2 separate regions of the Homo sapiens genome follow, and region 2 is linked to region 1. Evidence: promoter capture Hi-C in 16 types of primary human blood cells and fetal thymus (Javierre and others, 2016). All regions are on one chromosome and are shown on one strand. Each heading gives the region's core, a stretch centred on a gene start or on the middle of the fragment in contact. The rest is flanking DNA. Distances are from core to core; before and after follow the strand shown. Region 1 holds the start of H2AC15 (H2A clustered histone 15). Region 2 overlaps BTN1A1 (butyrophilin subfamily 1 member A1).

Evidence for each region. Contacts are between HindIII fragments. The CHiCAGO score rates a contact against its expected background, and 5 or more counts as called.
Region 2: a contact is called between a fragment that was not itself captured here and the fragment with the promoter of H2AC15 in region 1, in 1 of 17 cell types (naive CD8 T cells). The highest score is 5.0, in naive CD8 T cells.

Annotation. Positions count from the first base shown.
Region 1 is chr6:27,835,758-27,839,811 of GRCh38, reverse strand. H2AC15 (H2A clustered histone 15) reads left to right here and starts at 1,437. Exons shown (of 1, transcript NM_003510.3): 1 at 1,437-1,932. The coding sequence starts at 1,473. The coding sequence ends at 1,865. It overlaps H2BC15 (H2B clustered histone 15), which reads right to left and starts at 1,243. Exons shown (of 1, transcript NM_003520.4): 1 at 702-1,243. The coding sequence starts at 1,150. The coding sequence ends at 770. RefSeq lists enhancers at 992-1,201, 1,532-1,621, 1,692-1,801, 2,072-2,121, 2,192-2,281 and 3 more. The HindIII fragment of the contact is 16,643 bases long and covers 1-4,054 here.
Region 2 is chr6:26,501,971-26,505,656 of GRCh38, reverse strand. BTN1A1 (butyrophilin subfamily 1 member A1) reads right to left here. Exons shown (of 8, transcript NM_001732.3): 4 at 451-732. The region is part of intron 1 of LOC107986583 (a long non-coding RNA gene); the gene reads left to right. Among named protein-coding and RNA genes, the nearest start is that of BTN1A1, 3.5 kb to the right of the region's middle. The HindIII fragment of the contact is 357 bases long and covers 1,484-1,840 here.

The DNA.
Region 1 (4,054 bases), core at 188-2,687:
GCAAATCCAAACTGGGGACAAGGGAGGAGAAACAGCACCACTCTCAAAACAAACAAGTCGATTTGTACGTTTGTGTGTGTGCCAACTGCTTCATTACTAAAGTACACATGAAGTTTAGGGACAGAGCGCCGGAAGCACTGTGGATATTTTACCAGTGACACTTAAGTATTATATTTTCTTTGGGGTCAACAGGAACTGAATTTTCCCTTTACTAGGTTTGTCTGATGATAAACCTCATCCTTCTTCAGATATAAAATTGTCTCAAGCGTTGCTGCAACATGCAGTACACTGCAGTGCTAATTAATTTCTTTTCTTTTTCTTTCTTTTTTGAGACAGAGTTTCGCTCTTACTGCCCAGGCTGGGGTGCAATGGCCCGATCTCGGCTCACTGCAACCTCCATCTGCCGGGTTCAAGCGATTCTCCTGCCTCAGCTTCCCGGGTAGCTGGGATTACAGGCGTCCGCCACCACGCCCAGCTATTTTTTTGTACTTTTAGTAGAGACGGGTTTCACCATGTTGGCTAGGCTCGTCTCGAACTTCTAACCTCAGGTGAGCCACCCGCTTCGGTTTCCCGAACCGGGATTAGAGGCTTGAGCCAAAATTAGTTTCTAACAAGGCTAAAGGAATCTTGGAAATCGTCTTTGTAGCAAGTAAGAAATACCTGCTGTAAGAACAGTGAGTGCCAGTTCTCTTTGGGAAGACTGAGTGGCTCTGAAAAGAGCCTTTGGGGTGTGGGCCGAGACTGACCGAACGTTCCGCGGTGGGCGGGCTCACTTGGAACTGGTGTACTTGGTGACGGCCTTGGTGCCCTCCGACACCGCGTGCTTGGCCAGCTCCCCTGGCAGCAGCAGGCGCACGGCCGTCTGGATCTCCCTGGAGGTGATGGTCGAGCGCTTGTTGTAATGCGCCAGGCGGGAAGCCTCGCCGGCGATGCGCTCGAAGATGTCATTGACGAAGGAGTTCATGATGCCCATGGCCTTGGACGAGATACCGGTGTCGGGGTGGACCTGCTTCAGCACCTTGTACACGTACACGGAGTAGCTCTCCTTGCGGCTGCGCTTGCGCTTCTTGCCGTCCTTCTTCTGGGCCTTTGTCACTGCCTTCTTGGAGCCTTTCTTCGGGGCAGGAGCGGACTTTGAGGGCTCGGGCATGACTGGGAGTAACTGCCGGAAAATTGGAGGAAAAAAACAGGAAGACGGTAGCTCTGTCAACCTACCGCTTATTCACTGCTTCTTAACGCAAGTGGGGTAGAGAATGAAGTTGTGCGTTTAACCAGTGGTGAGTCCTGGAAACGTATATTAACTTTGTCCAATCAAAATAAGTGTTTTTCAAAACCGCAATCCCATTGGTTAAAGCGAAACTGTAATGTTAGCCAATAGCACAGCTTAGTTTTCGTGCCTCTGTTGACTATAAGTAGCGGAGCTTTAGCGTTACGTCAGTCTCAGGAACGTTACTGATTGAATTTTTTACGTCATGTCGGGACGTGGCAAGCAGGGCGGCAAAGCTCGCGCCAAGGCTAAGACCCGTTCTTCAAGGGCGGGTCTTCAGTTCCCAGTGGGCCGAGTGCACCGACTGCTCCGCAAGGGCAACTACGCTGAGCGGGTCGGTGCCGGAGCGCCGGTGTACCTGGCGGCGGTGTTGGAGTACCTAACCGCCGAGATCCTGGAACTGGCTGGCAACGCGGCCCGCGACAACAAGAAGACCCGCATCATCCCGCGCCACTTGCAGCTGGCCATCCGCAACGACGAGGAGCTCAACAAGCTGCTTGGTAAAGTGACCATCGCCCAGGGTGGTGTCCTGCCCAATATCCAGGCCGTGCTGCTGCCTAAGAAAACTGAGAGCCACCACAAGGCCAAGGGCAAGTAGCGGGGCTGGAGCAGTTCATTACTCATACCTCGGTCCAAACCAAAAAGGTTCTTTTCAGAGCCACCTACTTTTTCACCAAGTAGAGCTGTGTTCAGTTTTATCTGATAGTCGAGTCATTTTGCAATGGCACTGGAATGCTGTATGGAGATGAAGCAAAACTAAACGGCTTTTACACCACATTGTTTTGAGATAGAAAGTAGACATTGAAATGTTTACGGTACATCAAGAAATTTAGGCGCGGCAGCTCGCGCCTGCAATACAGCTGAAACAATAAGAAAAGTGAGGCAAGAGAATAACAAAGGGAGCTGAAAGTTAGAGGGCAGAATAAGTAAAAGCAAAGGGCAGAAGTAAGGTAGATGGGCGGGTGAACAAGAAGCGAGATAACAAGCAGTGAACCTTTTGCAGCCGAAACAAAAGAGATAATGTGAGCAAGGACCTCGTGGCCGGCAAGATCTGGAACAAACCAGTTTAAGAGGCAGCTCTTCAGAGATGGGCATGCGTATTAGAGAGGAAAAGTATCCTTAACAAAAGCCCGTATGATAATCAGCTACTTAAGGTTCATGCATATGGGCTACATATCATGCATATATTTAAGATTATAAGATAGAGGCACAAGCCACAGAGGACAAAGTAAGCAACAAACCTATCAATAAAAGGGCAGATGCTGGCTATAGATTAGGCAGCACTGGGAACAGAAAACATACACACACGCACGCACACACATAAAATGACTCAAACTACAGCAAGCTGACGCTGATCTCACCTCGCAGAGGTCAGTCCGCTCTCTCCCACCCCCGAGAGTGTAATACTCTGTTTACTAAACTTTTGCTGCTTTGCTTTGCTATCTGTGTGTGTGTCGTCCAATTTCTACCGGGCACCAAGAGCCTGGAACTGTTTGGCACCATCCGGTAAACAGAACCGCTTTGGGAAGCCGAGGCGGAAGGACCGCTAGAGCCTTGGAGTTCGAAGCCAGCCTGATCTTTACAAAAGTAAAATAACTAACCGTGCCTGGCGTCTCATAGCCTGTAGTCCTAGCTACTCGGGAGGCTGAGACCAGAAGGATCACTTGAGCCCAGGAGTTCGAGGCTGCAATGAGCTATGATTGCACCACTGCAGTCCAGCTTGTGTGACAGAGCAAGAGTGTTTCAAATGAACCTAGTGTCAGATATTTACTTTCTGTATTACAGAGGACTGAAAGCTAGCTAAATAATACTTTTCAGTGTACCTGGGTTCCAGAGATAAAATTGGTAAACTAACCTTTGCTCCTTACTTGGGCTTTTAGTTTATACTTCATAAGACCATGGAAGCAAAATTTAGGTATCTGACCCTTCTGCACAATTTAGGACCCCGTGTGTGTTTGGCCTACCTATTCGAGTTCAATTGAATCTTTCTGAGCATCTATGGTGTGCCAGGCACTCTCCTAAATGGGAATACAATATTAATCCAGATACATAAAGTCTCTATCCAAAAGGAGCTTCAAGTTGGCTTGGGCAAAGAATACATGTCATAATGGACTGTTTATATAAATGATGGGAAAGGGTTGGGGTTAGGGTGTGAGATTACTTTAGAACGTGTTATTTAAAAACAGTATGAATGAAGGACATTGTAAGTCAGGTTTTTTATTATATCATGGTCATATACTCCTGTTCCTGTCAGTTTTTCCTGCTTCCTTTCTTTCACCAAGATCACTCCTTTCCTTCTCAGATCACCAAGTCCTCCTAGCTATAGAGAGGGCCTTCTATTCCTCTCCACCTAAACTTATATAAGCTACTGTTTTCCTCATACAGACATGTTAATGAAAATGAATTTCTACAGGATCTCCAGTCCATTGAAATACATTAATTTTTGAGTCTCTTCACACATTTTTATTTCCTAGATTTAAGTCTTGATTGCAATCACATACAACTAGTATTTCTTGGAATAAAACAGCAATCACAAAAATCATAAATATCACATTGTTTAAAAAAATTTATTATTTGATGTTGAGGACTCCATCCTGATTTCAATGAATTAATTCATTTGTTCCCTTTTAAAATGTCATCTGTGTTATTTATGTGTATAAATTTTCAATAATTGTTTCTCAATATAGAGTAAATGATACAGCTCCATAGAAGGCCTGTAAGATTTTTGAAATTAAAATAAGTTTTTAAATAAAATATGCTGTTATGATCATTGAAGTTGATAATAAA
Region 2 (3,686 bases), core at 413-2,912, 1.3 Mb after region 1:
GCCAGAAGTTCAAGACCAGCCTGGGGAACATGGTGAAACCCTGCCTTCGCTAAAAATACACAAAATTAGTTGGGCACGGTGGTGTGCACTTGTCGTCCCAGCTATTCTGGAGGCTGAGGCAGGAGAATCGCTTGAACCTGGGAAGCGGAGCTTGCAGTGAGCTGAGATCATTCTGCTGCTGCACTCCAGTCTAGGCAACAGAGTGAGACACTGTCTCAAAAAATAAATAGATAAATAATCTGAAATTTATTTGAGATCAAGGTAGGTTTATGTCTTCAGTATCTTAACTCTTCTAATAAAGTTGGTGGGGTTCCCTTAAGTCACTGGAAAAGAGCTTAGGTGGGGAAAGTAGACAACTCTGCCATGAGGTCACATCTGGGCAGGTGTCCCAGGTGGTGTGGCTCTGAAGCTGTGTCAACATAGGAATCCAGCAGCATTGGTTCCACTAACCTGGTATGGATATTTCTACTTTCTTCTCCTGGCCAAGAAGGAGATTCTGGATGTAGCAGGACACATTTTTCGCAGAAGTGTCTCTGATGATCACTGAAGCAGCCACAGTGAACAAACCTTCTTCATCAGGATTCCTGGACTCTGATGTAGATGGAAACTTCTCTCCCTTGGAAGTTCTCCACTGCACCTGGGGCTCTGGGTACCATCCCACTGAGGTGCACTCCAGACAGATTTCTCCATTCTCTTGAACTTGCATACTGATGTGAGGGTCAGAGCCCAGAGCTATGGAGAGAGAATCTGGACTTAATGTTTTAGCGGACCCCTTTTGGGAGCCTTATAACCAGAGAGCTACATAGTTTGAGAAAGAGAGAGACAGAAAGGCACAAGTGGACTAGTAGGGGGAAGAACTCATCTCCATATTTCAATATACAAGGAAACTGAGGGCCAGGCACAGTGGTTTATGTCTGTAATGTCAGCACTTTGGGAGGCTGAGGCAGGATTACTTGAGTCCAGGAGATCAAGACCAGCCTGGGCAACACAATGAGACCCCATCTCTTTGGGCATGGTGGTTCTTGCCTGTATTCCTAGCTACTTGGGAGGCTGAGGTTGGAGGATTGCTTGAGTTCAGGAGTTCAAGGCTGCAGTGAGCTGTGATGGCACCACTGCACTCCAGCCTGGGTGACAGAGTGAAATGCTGTTTCTAAAAAAGTTTTTTTTTTTTTTTAAAGGAAATTGAAGTACCAATAAAAGGAATTTCATATACCTTATCAGAGAAGGATGCCTTGTTGGGATCAAGCCTTTGAAATGTTTGCAGCAGTTTGGTGGGCAGACTTGGGGGTGCTTGTCCAGCCAGCAGGAACACTAAGACCAATAACTCAGAGGTGGGTTAGTGGTCTAGGCTGAGAGCATTATGAGAAGACTTTGGTGGGGAGGAGGAGAAATAGGACTGGGTATTTAAGGATGAACAGAGGAATATCCTTGAGGAGAGGATTGGCGATTCTTTGGCTTGAGATTATAGTTGACAATTTAAGCTTTCTTTATCTATGATGTTGATTCAGAAATTTTCTTAAATGGTCTCAACTTCATATTCCCTCACATAATTGTGGCCTGTTATATATAAACATAAAGCTGCTTTTCTTGTGTGTTTAGCCTATTTTTTTCTGTAATTCCACATGGTACAGAAAAACACTGAGCTGCATAAAAGAGCTCTTAAACACATTTCCACAACCACTGGTTAAAATCCACATTCCAAGAATGTGTGTATATACAAGAATATATATTCTTTTCATGGAAGGAGCTGCCACTTTCAGCAGATTCTCAAGGGTGTCTGCCACTCATAAAAGGTAACACATTTTATGCCATCAAATTTCTATGTTTTTATAATCAAGCTTTAAGATACTTCTTCCCTAAAAACAAAATGTCAAAATTTGAATTATACATGATGCTGCAACTGGGGGACCCTGTTGTGAAGCAGGGACCCACATTTCACCCAAGTATTTTTCAAACTTTATATTTACTTGAATATATATCTATGTATATATATATATAATATATGCATATAGATTTAGATAATATATACATATATGATATATATGTGAAAGGCAATATGTTTGTATATTATATGTTTTAGATCAGTTTAAGGCACAGTATAGTATCTAATAAGTCTATAATGTTTTTAGAATTGGCGAGGTCATTTCTCATATATTGTCTAATTTTATTTTATTCTTTTTTTTTTTGTTAGAGACGAGTCTCACTCTGTTGCCCAGGCTGGAGTGCAGTAGTGCAGTCTCAGCTCACTGCAACCTCTGCCTCCCAGGTTCAAGCGATTTTCCTTGAGTAGCTGGGATTACAGGTATGACCCAGCTAATTTCTTTTTGTATTTTTAGTAGAGATGGGGTTTTGCCATGTTGGCCAGGCTGGTCTTGAATATCCTGATCAAAAGTGAGTCACCCGCCTTGGCCTCCCAAAATGCTGGGATTACAGGCGTGAGACACCACATCCCACTTTTTTTTTTTCTTTTTTTGACAGCACACTCTATTGTCCAGGCTGGAGTGCAGTGGCAACCATCAGCTTACTGTAACCTTGAATTTCTTGGCTCAAGAGATCCTCCTGCCTCTGCTTCCCAAAGCGCTGAGATTATAGGAGTTGGCCACTGGTCCCAGACTATTTTATTCTTGAAAAATAATCTTAGATAAAAACATCCTCAGTTTTACAGTAAAAATCAGAAAGAGATTTGCTTGATGTCATTCACTAGGAATTGAGAAAGTCAGACCTCAATGCGTACTTTCCTCCTCAAAGCTTATTATTTTCTTTATTGTTTCCCTTTGAATTCTGGCTTGAAGCAAAAAAGGGAACAAGAACAGAATCTTTTCTATATGAATCAGGAATGTGACAAACCGCCATGCTCTCTAATCTTAGGATGTCAGTCTTTAGAAACTAATCCATAAGCCAGCCTTAAAGTGTGTGGTATGCTCACCACAGCCATAAGATGTGTAATGGTGAGAAATACAATTTAAATGTACAATTCAGGGACTCGATGAAGTAAATTATGGTGTACTTGTATAAAAGAATGTTATATAACTCTTATATGTATTTAATTATTTCATGAAGAAATGCTTACCCTATTATTGAAAAAGGGCTGGAGATAATTGAAATAAAGTTCTACAATAAAGACATTGCACTGTTCTCTCCATGTTCAACTCAAAACCCTTTCTCACTGATTTCCTACTGTAGGACCTTCAGTACCTTCTAGCTGTGGAGTCCTAATCAGGGGAAAACAAAGAGATAAGGCAGATAAGCTGCAAGTCTGCCTTTCTTCATGGTCCAGTACACAGCCCTCCTGTGCAAATAACTCACAGTCATCCTTCCTGTGTCCAACTATCACCAAACACCTGCAAGTTAGCTCACTGCAACCTTTGCCTTATAGATACTGCACAAAGCCATCTTCAACAGACAGCATAAAAACTATTCTATAAATTATCCAGCAAGCCTTTGTTTCCTGGCAGTCAGCTTCTCTTTTGCTGATCCTGCCTTTTGCCTCCTCGAAAAGTATTTTCATACTTTTAAAAGTAAATCTGCCTTTCTTTACAACTGTCTTGGTAAATTCTTTTACCCCCCCTCGCCTCCCGCCCAGATAGTCGTCCCTCCCCGGCGACATCAACCTAAAAGAGATTTTGAGAATGAATCTGATGGTTTCCAAAGTAACTGATCCATACGAAAGTGTATACAGCAGGGGA